Regions from separate parts of the Homo sapiens genome. Here regions 1, 3 and 4 are each linked to region 2. The links are contacts of gene promoters, found by promoter capture Hi-C in blood cells and fetal thymus (Javierre and others, 2016). All regions are on one chromosome and are shown on one strand. Each heading gives the region's core, a stretch centred on a gene start or on the middle of the fragment in contact. The rest is flanking DNA. Distances are from core to core; before and after follow the strand shown. Region 1 has its middle 12 kb from the start of ZNF233. Region 2 holds the start of ZNF222 (zinc finger protein 222). Region 3 overlaps ZNF226 (zinc finger protein 226). Region 4 overlaps ZNF283 (zinc finger protein 283).

Region 1 (3,745 bases), core at 1,187-3,686, 220 kb after region 2:
GTGTTTTAACTTGAATTCAATCTCATTAATAGGTATAGGAATATTCAGGATGTCTGTTTATTCTTGAATAAATTTTGGTAGTTTTTCTTTTTTAAATACATTGTCTATTTCATCTAGGTTGTCACATATGGCATAAAGTTGTTCATAATATTTCCTTATTATCATTTTAATGTCATTAGGATCTGGCGTGTGTGTGTGTGTGTGTGTGTGTGTGTGTGTGTGTGTCTCCCAGGCTGGAGTGCAGTGGCACAATCTTGCATTCACAGCACCCTTTGCCTCCGGGGCAGGTTTAAGTGATTCTCCTGCCTCAGCCTCCTGGGTAGCTGGTATTTTTAGTAGAGAGGGGGTTTTGCCATGTTGGCCAGGCTGGTCTCAAACTCCTGACCCCTGAAGTGATCCACCTGCCTCAGCCTCCCAAAGTGCAGGGATTACAGGCGTGAGCCACTGCACCTGGCCTGTCATTAGGATCTGTAATCATATCCTTCTTTCAGTCCTACAATTGGTAATTTCTGTTTTGTTTTCTTGTTCTTTTCAAAGTTTATTGCTTTTTCTTCACTATTGTTATCCTTTTCGTTTGGTTGATTTCTGCTTTCATTTTTGTTGTTTTCTTCTTTCTTGCTTAGGGGTTTTTCTTTTTTCATAGACAGGGTCTCACTCTGTTACCCAGGCTAGTCTCAAACTCCTGGGCTCAAGCAGTTCTCCTGCCTTGGCCTCCCCCAAATCCTGGGATTACAGGTGTGAACCATTGCACCCAGCTTTTTTTTTTAAAGTTTATTAAGCTTAAAAAAGCTTAGATAATTGATGTAAGTTCCTTTTCTTCCAATATAAGCATTTCATGCTCTAAATTTTTCTCTAAATGCTGCCTTAGTGGCATTCTACAAGTTCTGATATGTTATCTTTTTATTTTTATTTCTTATTTTCCCTTTTCTCTTCTAACTCATGGGGTTTTTTTTGACCCATGGGTTATTTAATTTCTAAGGGTAGTGGGGGATTTTCCTGAGATTGTTTTGTTATTGATTCTCATTTAATTTTGTTGTGATATGAGAATATACTTTGTGTGGTTTCAATTCTTTTAAATTGGTGCAGTGAATTACATGGCCCAGAGTATGATCCATCTTGGTGTATGTTTTAATGATGTTGATTAATAATGTTGTTGAGGTCTTCTATATCCTTACTGGTTTTCTTTTCTTTTTTCCATCACGGCAAGAGTTCATCATGACTTACTGGTTTTCTATTTGTTTTATTGATTAATGAGAATGAAGTCTCCAGCTGTTAATTGTGGGTTGTTTAGTCTTTGTCTTTATCAGTTTTGGCTTTGTATATTTTGAAGCTCTGTTGTTTTGTGCATACACATTTAATTTTATGTCTTTTTGGTGAAATTACCTCTTTATTATTATTTAATGTCCCTCTTATTTCTGGTAATAATCCTTGTTTTGATGCCTACTTTGTTTGCTTTTAATATCACCACTATAGCCTTTTTTTTTTTTTTTTTTTTTTTTTTTTTTTTTTTTTTTGAGAGGGAGTCTTGCTCTGTCGCCCAGGCTGGAGTGCAATGGCACGATCTCGGTTCACTGCAAGCTCTGCCTCCCAGGTTCATGCCATTCTCCTGCCTCAGCCTCCCAAGTAGCTGGGACTACAGGCGCCCGCCACCATGCCCAGCTAATTTTTTTCTATTTTTAGTAGAGATGGGGTTTCACCATGTTAGCTAGGATGGTCTCAATCTCTTAACCTCGTGATCCGCCTGCCTTGGCCTCCCAAAGTGCTGGGATTACAGGCTTGAGCCACCGCGCCCGGCCCACTGTAGCCTTTTATTAGTGTTTGCCTAATAGTAGTATAGCCACTCCAGCTTTAATTTGATTATTGTTGCTTTATTCTCCAATCTGATGATTTGTTATAATTGGTATGTTTATGTCATTTATATATCATTTAGTAATTGATATGGTCAGATATAAATCTATTTTTGGTTACCTTCTTTGTTTCTTTTCCTTTTGTTACACATTTTTTGCTAATTTTTAAATATGATTTCATATCGTATCCACAATTAGCTTATTTTTACAGGCTGAATATCCCTTACCCAAAATGTTTGGGATTAGGAGTGTTCAGATTTCGGATTTTTTCAGATTGTGGAATATTTGTATTGTAGTTATCAGTTGAGTATTTGCAGTCTGAACATCTGAAATCCAAAACACTCCCATCAGCATTTCCTTTGAGTTGTCATGTAAGCACTCAAAAAAATTCAGATTTTACAGCATTTGGATGTTCAGGTTGGGGTACTCAACCTGTACCTCTTTTCATTATTGTTTTAGCGTTTACTGTAGAATTTACAATATTCATCTATAGTTAATGACAGCCTCTCTTTAAATAATATATACTATTTTATTTATTTTATTTCACTAGGTTTTTGGGAAACAGGTGGTGTTTGGTTAATGAGATTTTGAATATATACTCTTTACTTATACAACTGTACACTCCCAATTCCTTCCTTCAAACTTTTGTCCAATTGTCAAGCATTTGTCGTTGGCATATGCTATAAAGCCACAGTACATTGCTATTATTTTTGCTTTAGGAGTCAAGTGTCTTTCAGAGCAATTAAAAGTTAAATTCTTAACTGCTTCTGGAAATCGTCATTACTTTGCAAGTTTACCAAATTTTATATAGCATCCTTTCTGTTTGAAGAACTTTCTTTAATGTTTCTTGTACTGCTGGTTGGCTGCTACTGAATTTTTTCAGTTTTTGTCTTAAAAAGTTTTCATTATATCTTCATTTTCGAGGGATGTATTTGCTGGGTATGGAATTATGTGTTGTTGTTTTTTTCTTTCTATACTCTTTGTATTCTGGTTTGCATAGTTTCTAATGAGACATGTCCTGTAATTCTCATCTTTGATTCTTTGTATGTATTGTGTCTCCTCACCCATCCCCTGCCTTTGGCCGCCTTCAAAATTTTCTCTTTATTTTGAATTTACTGCAGTTTCAATATGATGTGTCTAGGTGTGATTGTTTTTATTTTTATTTTAAAAATACAGATACTACCATTGAAAATCCACAGAAATATATTCATTCACCTAGAAACTCTTGTTTCTTACTACATTCTTCATGTAATAAACCAAAGGATGGAAGGGTGTATATTTTAGTACATTAGAAAAAGCTCATTTGCATATACTTCTTGAATTTTTCATGTGCACAAAGACCCACTGAAAGTATACACGAAAAACTAACACTGGTCGGGCGTGATGACTTATGCTTGTAATCCCAACACTTTGAGAGGACGAGGCAGACAGATCACTTGAGGTCAGGAGTTCGAGACCAGCCTGGGCAACATGGTGAAACTCCATCTCTACTAAAAATACAAAAATCAGCCAGGCGTGGCGGTACACATATGTAATCCCAGCTACTTGGGAGGCTGAGGCAGGAGAATCGCTTGAACCCAAGAGGCAGAGGTTGCAATGAGCCAGGATTGTGCCATTGCACTCCAGCGTGGGTGACAGAGCAAGACTCCATCTCAAAAAAAAACAAACCAACAAAAAAAAAACACAAAGATTACATGTGGTACATGGGCTTTTGGTATAGGCAAACAACCTTGGGTCAGAATGGGATGAGTTTTCAAGGTATATTGTTTATATTATTTTAATTTTGTACCATGTAAATATATTACCTAGTATAGAAAAAAATTTAAAGCAAATTTCCCCAAATGCATTAATGGGCCTTATTTTTTCCTTTGCCTAGTTTAATTATTTGATTAGAGTCT
Region 2 (3,757 bases), core at 1,042-3,541:
ATTTTTACAGAAATAAAGATGATTGTAATAGAATACTATATACAATTGTATGCCAAGAATTTGTATAACTAGATGAAATAGACAAATTCCTTAAAGCATACACCTTACCAAATCTGAATTATGAAGACAAAAAAATCTGAGTAGACCTCTAACTAGTAAGGAGATTGAATCAGTAATCCAAAACCTCCCAATGTAGAAAAGCCCAGGATCAGATGGCTTCACTGGCAAACGCTTCAACACATTTAAGGAACATTTAACACCATAGCTGCTCAACCTCTTCCCAAAAATGCAAGAAGAGAGAACACTTCTTTGATCCTTCTGTCAGGTCAGTATTACCCTGATGCCAAACCAGAAAAAGACAATTCAATAAAATTATACACCAATATCCCTTATGAATACTGATGCAAGAATTCACCAGCAAAATACCAGCAAGATCCAGCAGCATATTAAAAGGATTACACTTAGTGACCGAACTGTTTTATTCCTGGAAGGCGAATATAATTATGGTTCAACATACAAATATCAATGTAATACTCCACATGAGCAGAGTGGAAGGTATAAATCACATCATGTCAGTGAATGCAGAACATTCAGTTTCACAAAATTCAGCACCTAGCACCTTTTCATGATTGAAATACCAAATAACTAGAAGGAGAATAAACTACCCCAGCAAAATAAAGGCTATATATGGAAATTCTCAGAGCTGATTGTCATACTCAATGGTGAAGGACTGAAAGCTTTTCTTCTAATATCAGGAACACAATGAGTTTTCTCCACTTTTCCCACATTTAGTCAATGTAGTATTGGAAGTTCTATGCAGAACAATTAGATAGAAAAAGAAAATAAAGCTATTAAAATTGGAAACAGAGGTAAAATTGTCTATATGCTAATGACATGTTCTTATATATAAAAATTCTAAAGAATTCACAAGAAAAAAAAACTCTTAGAGCTAGTAAAGTCAGAAAGTTGCAGGAAAAATATCTACATAGAAGAAGCAGTTGTATTTCTATACAAAAACAATTAATCTGAAAAGGAAAATAGTTCCCTTTGCAATAGCATTAAATAAATAAATTACTTAGGAACTGTCTTAACCAATGACAAGAAACACTTGGACACTGAATTTTGCAACATCTTACTAAAGAAAATTAAAGAAGGCACCCCAGGCATGGTGGCTTATGCCTGTAATCCCAGCACTTTGTGAGGCCCAGGCAGGCGAATAACTTGAGGCCAGGAGTTCGAGATCAGCCTGGCCAACCTGGTGAAACCCCTGTCTTCACTAAAAATACAAAAATTGGCCAGGTATGGTGGTACGTGCCTGTAATCCCAGCTACTTGGGAGGCTGAGGCAGGAGAATCGCTTGAACTCAGGAGGCGGAGGTTGCAGTGAGCCAAGATTGTGCCACTGCACTCCAGCTTGGGCGACAGAGTGAGACTCTGTCTCAAAAAAAAAAAAAAAAAAATTAAAGAAGGCGCAAATAAATGGAGATATATCCATTATTAATGGATTGGGCGACTTGATATTGCAAGGCTGTCAATACCTATATCTATAGATTCAATGCAATCCTTAATCACAGTAACATTTTTCTCAGAAATGAAAAAATCCACCTGAGATTCATGTGAAATATCAAGGGACACTCTCTCCCATGGTCATATTTTAGACCTCGTCATTTTCTAGCAAATATTCCTCCATAATAATTTGCAGCACTACTCTCCAACAACTTTGACTTGTATTTCCACCTTGGTCCCACCAGCATGCTAGCATCAGTAATATTAGAACCTCGCCAATACCTACAGTCCACTGAGACGATCACCTTTTTACTCTTTCAACTCCTCGTGTACTCACAGCCTGCCAAGCACATTTCTTGTCAGGAGAGGACAGCTCACTTCTCCTAATGTCTCACTTCCCAAAATTGTGTCCCATGAAAATTTCTAGCTAGATGAAGGCAGAGAAAGAAAATATTTGATTTCTTAGGCTTTATGGAAGCGATAGGAATGGCAATAGTGGTTTGGAATGGAGACTGCACGCACCAGTCAACAGGGTGTGTCCCGAATAAGCAGTGGGTAAAGGACATTTACTGAAATGCTATCTCCAACTCCACTTCAGGAAAGCTTGCTGCAGAGTTAGAGTGATATAGTCCAAATGCTCTGTTTGAGTCGCGGGCCCTTTGTCTCACACGGGCGAGTCCGGGGAATTCTGGGAAGTGGAGTCCACACGCTCTGTGGAGGCTCGAGCACTTCCGGTCCCCAACTGTGACGTTGCTATTTCATTTACCACAGTAGTTTGAGTCATTTCCACATCTTGCGAGTCCTTCCGAACGAGTCTCCTTTCCTTGGGGCTCGCAACCACCCAATGATCGATTCAGGAGAAAAGAAGCCTGGGCGGAGAGCAGAGGTTTGGAGGGGCGCGGGCGGGGATTGCCGTTCCAGTCAGCTGAGCCTTCTGGCGTCGGGGGGCTCTGCTAGGGTCTCAGGGAGTGGGATTGGCGCGGCCCGGTGTGCCCTACTTTGACCTCGCTTAGTCCGCCTCCCTCCTCCCTACGTGTGCAGCCCCTTTCAGTGTGGTGTGGAGTGTCACTTAATGTCCGTTTATCTTCCATTGCTGGTTCGTTTGTTTGTTTGTTTTGTAACGGGACTTTTCGGACCATCCTAATGGATTCATTTTGGGACCTGAAAGAGGTAACACAAATGAGAGCCTTAAAAGCAGTCCCTGTCACTCGGTGTCTGGTGGTCTCTTGTTAATTTCCCACGAAGCCTGTCAGGTCCTCTGGTGGGGTCAGAGCTCCAGCTGCAGGGGCGCCGGCCCTTCTGCCTGATCCCTGCAGGACGCTGGATGATCCCTGACGCCTTCTGACCTCTTTTTAGGAAAGTGAGGGGAGCATTTAACTTTTATGGGGGACGGCAAAACGGTCAGGGTGTTTCACAGCTTTCTTTTTCCCCAGCCCGACCTTTCTAAAAGAGCTGCAGGAAGGGACTTCTTGGCTACTGATGGCAAAGCTCTACGTGAGTGATCCTTGGCTTTTTTTCTTTGACAGAGATGCTTACCTCAACCGAGAGTGTGTAGGATTTGTCCCTCGGGCATGGGTGTCGATAATGATTAAGCCTTAATTGGTAACTTTATTCCAAGTACTTTATACCCCAAAATACATGATCTTCACAGTGGCACTGTGGAGAGGTGCTGCTTTTTTCATTTTAAAGATGGGCGTGAGACACAGGTGGAGCAGGAGTTGAAACCTAGGCAGTCCAGGTTAGAGCCTGAGTTGATCATCTCTTGAATGCAATTCTCATTGAGGCAGAGGTACTAGCTGGGAACAGGTGGAGAACGTAAGTTAGGACTTGATTGAAGGCACCTTGAGGCAAGGCTCAGGGGCTTGGACTTCTATAGGAGTTTTTGTTTGTTTGCTTTTTGCTTTTTAATTTTTTTAACCTTATCTACTATTTTCTTTCTCTCTCTCTCTCTATATATATATATATTTTTTTTTTTACAGAGTTTCGCTCTTGTTGCTTAGGCTGGAGTGCAGTGGTGCAATCTTGGCTCACTGTAACCTCCGCCTCTCGGGTTCAAGTGATTCTCCTGCCTCAGTCTCATTTTCGTCAAAGGGCCCGCGACTCAAACAGAGCATTTGGACTATATCACTCTAACTCTGCAGCAAGCTTTCCTGAAGTGGAGTTAGAGATAGCATCTCAGTAAATGTCCTTTACCCACTATTTATTCAGGACACACCCTGTTGACTGGTGTGTGCAGTCTCCATTCCAAACCC
Region 3 (3,319 bases), core at 365-2,864, 150 kb after region 2:
CATTCATAAAAAGAAATGGATCTTACATTGTTGCCTCTCAAACATTTATATCGTGTAGGCTTATATGTATGTCTTTAGAAGGCCTTTTATGTAATGACACCATTACTGCTTGTGATTATTCTGATATGATACTTTATCTGTTTTTTTTTCCTAAATATCACAAGCTATTAAATTTATTTCACAATTGACTAGTAGACCACTTTGTCAATTTGGAAAACATTCTTGTTAAAGACAAACATATCTACATCCAGAAACTTTCTATACCTTGCTTTCAAAGAGACAGCATTCTTTGCTAGCCTTCCAATTTTGACTCAGTGCAAAAGCCTTAGAAGGATCCAGTGCATAGGTCTTCATGCTTTCCTTTCACCCCAAGTGATTATCAACTTTGATTTTTCTCTTCAGCAATAACTCACTTGGTGTACCCCTACCTCAGGTACAGCTTTTCAACTTTGCAGCAAAACTGTACTTTCTAGTTCTTTTTGTATTTCAGATACCTTACTTGTAAAAGCTCTTTTGCTCTATGACCTGGCTCAAACTTAAACTTGGATTTGAAGTTAGAAGAAATGTTGGAAGTCATTTATATATGAAGAAATGTTGGAAGGACTCATATATGCATACATTCCTTGAGTGACTATGAATGACTGCCGGGCAGTAACTTCTGGGCTGTGGTTGTAAACTGTGAGCACTACAAAATGTTTTTCCTTATTGATACCATATTATGGTAGGAAAGACATGGAATAAAAAATTTAGATAGTATGTCAGTAGTTGTGTTTTTAAATGGGTTTCATTAGTGCTTAGCAATTGGGAGCTTGGTGGACCATCTCTTGGTTTTGGACCATCTCTTGGTTTCTGTCAGTATGTAAACCAGAAACTTCAAATGTGTCACAAAAGATGAGCAGAACTATCCCGAGGTTCATTAAAGTCTTTTACTCTGTCCTCAGTGTGAAATCTTAAATCTTTGAACAAAAAAATTCACTATCTCTCTGAATCCTTTGTCCTTACAGGAGAGAAAAATCAAAGTAAGTTAATTACTGTTCAAGACAGAGAATCAGAAGAAGAGCTTTCTTGTTGGCAAATCTGGCAACAAATTGCAAATGACTTAACCAGGTGTCAAGACTCCATGATCAATAATTCTCAGTGTCACAAACAAGGTGATTTCCCTTACCAGGTAGGGACAGAACTGTCTATTCAAATTTCTGAAGATGAGAACTATATAGTAAATAAAGCAGATGGTCCCAATAATACTGGGAATCCAGAGTTTCCTATCTTGAGAACCCAGGATTCTTGGAGGAAAACATTCCTGACTGAGTCACAGAGATTGAACAGAGATCAGCAAATTTCCATAAAAAATAAATTATGTCAATGTAAGAAGGGTGTTGATCCCATCGGTTGGATTTCACATCATGATGGTCATAGAGTACACAAAAGTGAAAAATCTTATAGACCCAATGATTATGAAAAAGACAACATGAAGATTTTGACATTTGATCACAATAGCATGATTCACACAGGACAGAAATCGTACCAGTGTAATGAGTGTAAAAAACCCTTCAGTGATCTCTCCAGCTTTGATCTTCATCAGCAGTTACAATCAGGAGAGAAGTCTCTTACATGTGTTGAGCGTGGAAAAGGCTTCTGTTACAGCCCAGTTCTTCCTGTTCATCAGAAAGTACATGTGGGAGAAAAACTTAAGTGTGATGAGTGTGGTAAGGAATTCAGTCAGGGCGCTCATCTACAGACCCATCAGAAAGTCCACGTGATAGAGAAACCATACAAATGTAAGCAATGTGGGAAAGGTTTCAGTCGTAGATCAGCACTTAATGTTCATTGCAAGGTCCACACGGCAGAGAAACCTTATAATTGTGAGGAGTGTGGGAGGGCCTTCAGTCAGGCCTCTCATCTTCAGGACCATCAGAGACTCCACACTGGGGAGAAGCCATTCAAATGTGATGCATGTGGTAAGAGCTTCAGTCGGAATTCACATCTTCAATCCCATCAAAGAGTTCATACAGGAGAGAAACCATACAAATGTGAGGAGTGTGGTAAGGGCTTCATTTGTAGCTCAAATCTTTACATTCATCAGAGAGTCCACACAGGAGAAAAACCCTATAAATGTGAGGAATGTGGTAAAGGCTTTAGTCGGCCTTCAAGTCTTCAGGCCCATCAGGGAGTTCACACTGGAGAGAAGTCATACATATGTACTGTATGTGGGAAAGGCTTTACTCTGAGTTCAAATCTTCAAGCCCATCAGAGAGTCCACACTGGAGAGAAGCCATACAAATGCAATGAGTGTGGGAAGAGCTTCAGGAGGAATTCCCATTATCAAGTTCATCTAGTGGTCCACACAGGAGAGAAACCCTATAAATGTGAGATATGTGGGAAGGGCTTCAGTCAAAGTTCGTATCTTCAAATCCATCAGAAGGCCCACAGTATAGAGAAACCTTTTAAGTGTGAGGAGTGTGGGCAGGGTTTCAATCAGAGCTCACGACTTCAGATTCACCAGCTGATCCATACGGGTGAGAAACCATACAAATGTGAAGAGTGTGGCAAGGGATTTAGTCGTAGAGCAGATCTTAAAATTCACTGTAGGATCCACACAGGAGAGAAACCATATAATTGTGAGGAGTGTGGGAAGGTCTTCAGGCAGGCCTCAAATCTTTTGGCCCATCAGAGAGTCCACAGTGGAGAAAAACCATTCAAATGTGAAGAATGTGGGAAGAGTTTCGGTCGGAGTGCACATCTTCAAGCCCATCAAAAAGTCCACACTGGAGATAAGCCATACAAATGTGATGAGTGTGGGAAGGGCTTCAAGTGGAGCTTGAACCTTGACATGCATCAGAGGGTGCACACAGGAGAAAAACCATATAAATGTGGGGAGTGTGGTAAGTACTTCAGTCAGGCCTCAAGTCTTCAACTTCATCAGAGTGTCCACACAGGAGAGAAACCATACAAATGTGATGTGTGTGGTAAAGTCTTCAGTCGGTCTTCACAACTACAGTCTCATCAGCGAGTTCACACTGGGGAGAAACCTTATAAATGTGAGATATGTGGTAAGAGCTTCAGTTGGCGATCAAATCTTACAGTTCATCACAGAATCCATGTTGGTGATAAATCCTATAAAAGTAATAGGGGTGGTAAGAACATCAGAGAATCCACACAGGAAAAAAAATCTATAAAATGATTCTTTGTGAAGACTCGTGTCATTTGAATTCTTCCAGTTATCAAGTCTCAAAGTCAGTGTTTCAGCCGTAGCTCCTCATGTCCCAGTGGTCCAAAGACAACAAAACAATCTTTATGATTAGCATAGCAAGGGCTTCTT
Region 4 (3,590 bases), core at 858-3,357, 180 kb before region 2:
CCAGGTTCAAGCAATTCTCGTGCCTCAGCCTCCAAAATAGCTGGGATTACAGTCGTGTGCCACTATGCCTGACTAGTTTTTGTATTTTTAGTAGACACAAGGTTTCACTGTGTTGGCCAGGCTGGTTTTGATTTCCTGACCTCAGGTGATCCACCTGCCTTGGCCTCCCAAAGTGCTGGGATTACAGGCATGAGCCACTGCACCCAGCCTTCATCTTTCTTATTTTTGAAGGATATTTTTACCAGATATGAATTTCCCAACTGATATATTTTTTCTTTTAGTTAGCTTCAAAAATGTTCCATTATCTTCTGAACTCTATTGTATATAATGATTAGACAGCTATGATTCTTATTGTTCATTTTATATATACTTTATTCTCTGTTATTAAGTTTTTTCTTTATTTTTGGTCTGTAATAATCTGACTATAAAGTTCTAGATATGGTTCCTTTACATTTATCATGCTTCACTTTCCCTTACCTTTGATCAGTGGGTTGATTTTTTTATTGAATTTGGAGAAATTTCAACCATTGTATCTTCAAATACTTTTTTCTGCTTCTTTAGTACTTTTCCTCCTCCTAAGACTCCAATTATATGTGTGTTAGACCACTTATATGGTGCCACCAGTCACGGAGGTGCAACCCCCAGTCTTTTTACTCTTTGTACTTCAGTTTGGTAATACCTATTTACCTGTCTTGAAGTCACTGTTTTTTTTTTCTTTGATAGTGTCCAATTATTGTTAAGCCTATCCAATAAAGATTTCATTCCACCTACATTTTATAGTTATAGAATTTACATTTGGTTTTGTGGGTCTGCTTTTATTGACTGTATTTTCTCTAAATCTTGTGTCAAATTTTCCTGCTTCTTTACCGGTCTTACAATTTCTCATTGTATACTGGCCATTGTAGATGCCATGTTGTAGTGACTTGGGGATTTTATTATCTTCCTAATAGTTAAACTGTTCAGGCAAGCAGTTAAATTAATAGCAGATCACAATGATCTTTTTAAGAGTTGATTTTTGAAGGCAGGTACAGTTTGGTTTTATCCTTAGTCCTGGACATAATTCTTACTCTAGGTAGGGCAGTGGTTCTCAAACTGTGGACTGAAGACCCCTGGGAGTTCCCAAGAACCTTTCAGTGGGCCAAACCTTTCACAAAGTGAAAAATATTCTCATAACAATACTGAGAGGTTTGCCTTTTTCACTGTGGTGACACTTCCACTGGTGGTGTAGAAGCCATGGTGAATCTTCTCTGCTTTAGCATGAGCAAAGGCAGAGGCACCAAATAGTACTAGTAATCATCATATTCTTTACCTCCACACACAAAGAAAATGTGTTAAGAAAAAACCCATTTTCACTTAAGAACATCTTGAAGAAGCAGTATTCATTTTATTAAATCTCAACCCTTGATTATATATACATTTAAAAAATATTCTATGTAATGAAATGGGAAGTATCCATTAAGGTCTTCTGCTGTATACCAAAGTATGATGGTTGCCTTGAAGAAAACCACTTGTACAGTTGTTTAAGTTGTGAGTTAAAGGCCAGGCTCTGTGGCTGATGCCCGTAATCCCAGCATTTTGGGAGGCCAAGGCGGACAGATCACAAGGTTAAGAGATCGAGACCATCCTGGCCAACATGGTGAAACCCCATCTCTACTAAAAATACAAAAATTAGCTGAGCATGGTGGCACGCGCCTGTAGTCCCAGCTACTCGGGAGGCTGAGGCAGGAGAATCGCTTGAACCCGAGAGGCGGAGGTTGCAGTGAGCCAAGATCGTGCCACTGCATTCCAGCCTGGTGACAAAGTGAGACTACGTCCCCACCCCCAAAAAAATTGTGAGTTAAACCAACTGCTTTTTTGACAAAACACCATATTTTTCACCAAAGAATGAAAAACTTTGTTTGTTCAGACTTGGGCAGTAGGAAAACATTTTCTTGCAAGTGAGCCTGTCACTTCAAAAATAACTAATATTTGTTGCCAATGATATAATTCAATCTGTCATGTTAAAATTAGAATTTTGTAAAATGTTTATTCATAATTTTGAGCTTTATAGCTTCCTAATACATTAAGATTTTTTATGAGATGGGTGGTAATATTAACATGTGATTTTTTGATGTTGTATAGTGAACTACGTCAACATTTCAAAGATCTGCATAACTCTTTGAATCAGTATTTTCCAAATGACCAGTGTATGATGTTACAAAATTACACATGGATAAAAGATTATTCAAAGTGCAATGTAACATAGTATGAAAAGTTCACAGATATGATTTTATATTCCACATTGTACTTAACCTGCCAGACACTACCATTTCTTAAGTTTTAGGGTGGTGTCAAAGAAAAATATCCACAGTTATCTGCATGGACTAGTAAAATATTCTGCCATTTTCCAACTATGTACCATGAGAGGCTAGATTTTCTTCATATACTTCATATATATGATTTTCTTCATATATTTCAACCTAAATAACATATTGCCATAGATTGAATGCAGAAGCAGATATGAGAATCCAGGTGTCTTTTATTAAACCATCCATTTAAAAGATTTGAAAAAATTTAAAACATCTTTTGTTTTGTTTTAGAAAAGATTATTTTTATAACAAATCATTTATGTTAACAGTTAATGGTTTATTGTTATTTTAAGTGAATTAGTAAATATCTTAAAATTTCTCTGTTTAAATTTTTAACATGACAAATATCAAAATATATAACTACATAAACTAAAAGTCTTTTGGGTCCTCAATGATTTTTCTTGACATTTAAGAAGTTAAACCCATATTTATTTACTGACACTGTAAAACCTTACATAAAACATAAGTAGTAAGTAACTAAAATGTTAAATCTAAATCTATAATGTTAAATTAAAATCTAAGCCTTACATAGAAATTAAAATTCGCTAAACTACTGATGCTATGTTGTACAAAACTGTACTCCTTTTAGTTCATAATTGGTCACCTCCATATTCAGTTGGAATATTAGGTTGGTCAGCTTAAATACTGTGGCTTTGTTTTGGTTATCCACAGAATCTTTACACCCAAATGTTAATGCATAAAAAGCAGCAAGACATTGTTAAATGAAACAGCAATAGTGCAGTTTAGACCTGTGACCAACTATATATGATTAAACTTACTTCCCACATTCACATCACAATAATCATCCATCATTTAATAGCTCAACCAAAATGTTATACAGTCATCAACAGGCAAGGCACATGAAAACCCCGCACAACCAAGAATGATTTGGGCCCAAATGTCAGTAGATTTGAGTTTGGAAAAACCTTCTTGTAGTTGTTAAGGCTCAATGGCTCTGGTTAATTTAATATAATAAACAACAACTTCATAATGGAAAAAAATTAAATCCTCTATTGAGGTATAAAACCTAATTAATTTATAAGGATAAAGTAAGTGACTACCTTGAAGTCAAAACACATTATGGACAATGAAAGAGTATTACGATTGTTCCAAATTGACAAGGGTATTTAAACCTAGGTACACAATCTTTCTTAAAATTAATTTATAGAAAGTCATAACCTGTGGGTACATGAATATGAATATACATCTTCTCCAACTTGACAAGTACATTATTGCTGGGAC

What was found. Contacts are between HindIII fragments. The CHiCAGO score rates a contact against its expected background, and 5 or more counts as called.
Region 1: a fragment that was not itself captured here is called in contact with the fragment with the promoter of ZNF222 in region 2 in 1 of 17 cell types (non-activated CD4 T cells); the score reaches 5.9 in non-activated CD4 T cells.
Region 3: a contact is called between a fragment that was not itself captured here and the fragment with the promoter of ZNF222 in region 2, in 3 of 17 cell types (non-activated CD4 T cells, fetal thymus and naive CD4 T cells). The highest score is 5.5, in non-activated CD4 T cells.
Region 4: a contact is called between a fragment that was not itself captured here and the fragment with the promoter of ZNF222 in region 2, in 2 of 17 cell types (non-activated CD4 T cells and total CD4 T cells). The highest score is 6.2, in non-activated CD4 T cells.

The regions. Positions count from the first base shown.
Region 1 is chr19:44,245,549-44,249,293 of GRCh38, forward strand. No RefSeq gene overlaps it. Among named protein-coding and RNA genes, the nearest start is that of ZNF233, 12 kb to the right of the region's middle. The HindIII fragment of the contact is 3,299 bases long and covers 788-3,745 here.
Region 2 is chr19:44,023,088-44,026,844 of GRCh38, forward strand. ZNF222 (zinc finger protein 222) reads left to right here and starts at 2,292. Exons shown (of 4, transcript NM_001129996.2): 1 at 2,292-2,391. The coding sequence starts at 2,350. ZNF222-DT (ZNF222 divergent transcript) reads right to left here and starts at 2,195. Exons shown (of 3, transcript NR_184028.1): 1 at 2,028-2,195; 2 at 1,811-1,932; 3 at 1-812. RefSeq lists enhancers at 2,258-2,307, 2,538-2,587. The HindIII fragment of the contact is 1,542 bases long and covers 2,107-3,648 here.
Region 3 is chr19:44,174,494-44,177,812 of GRCh38, forward strand. ZNF226 (zinc finger protein 226) reads left to right here. Exons shown (of 6, transcript NM_001032373.2): 6 at 1,005-3,192. The coding sequence ends at 3,181. Among named protein-coding and RNA genes, the nearest start is that of ZNF226, 11 kb to the left of the region's middle. The HindIII fragment of the contact is 8,400 bases long and covers 1-3,319 here.
Region 4 is chr19:43,841,524-43,845,113 of GRCh38, forward strand. All of the region lies in intron 6 of ZNF283 (zinc finger protein 283), which reads left to right. Among named protein-coding and RNA genes, the nearest start is that of ZNF283, 16 kb to the left of the region's middle. The HindIII fragment of the contact is 4,496 bases long and covers 1-3,590 here.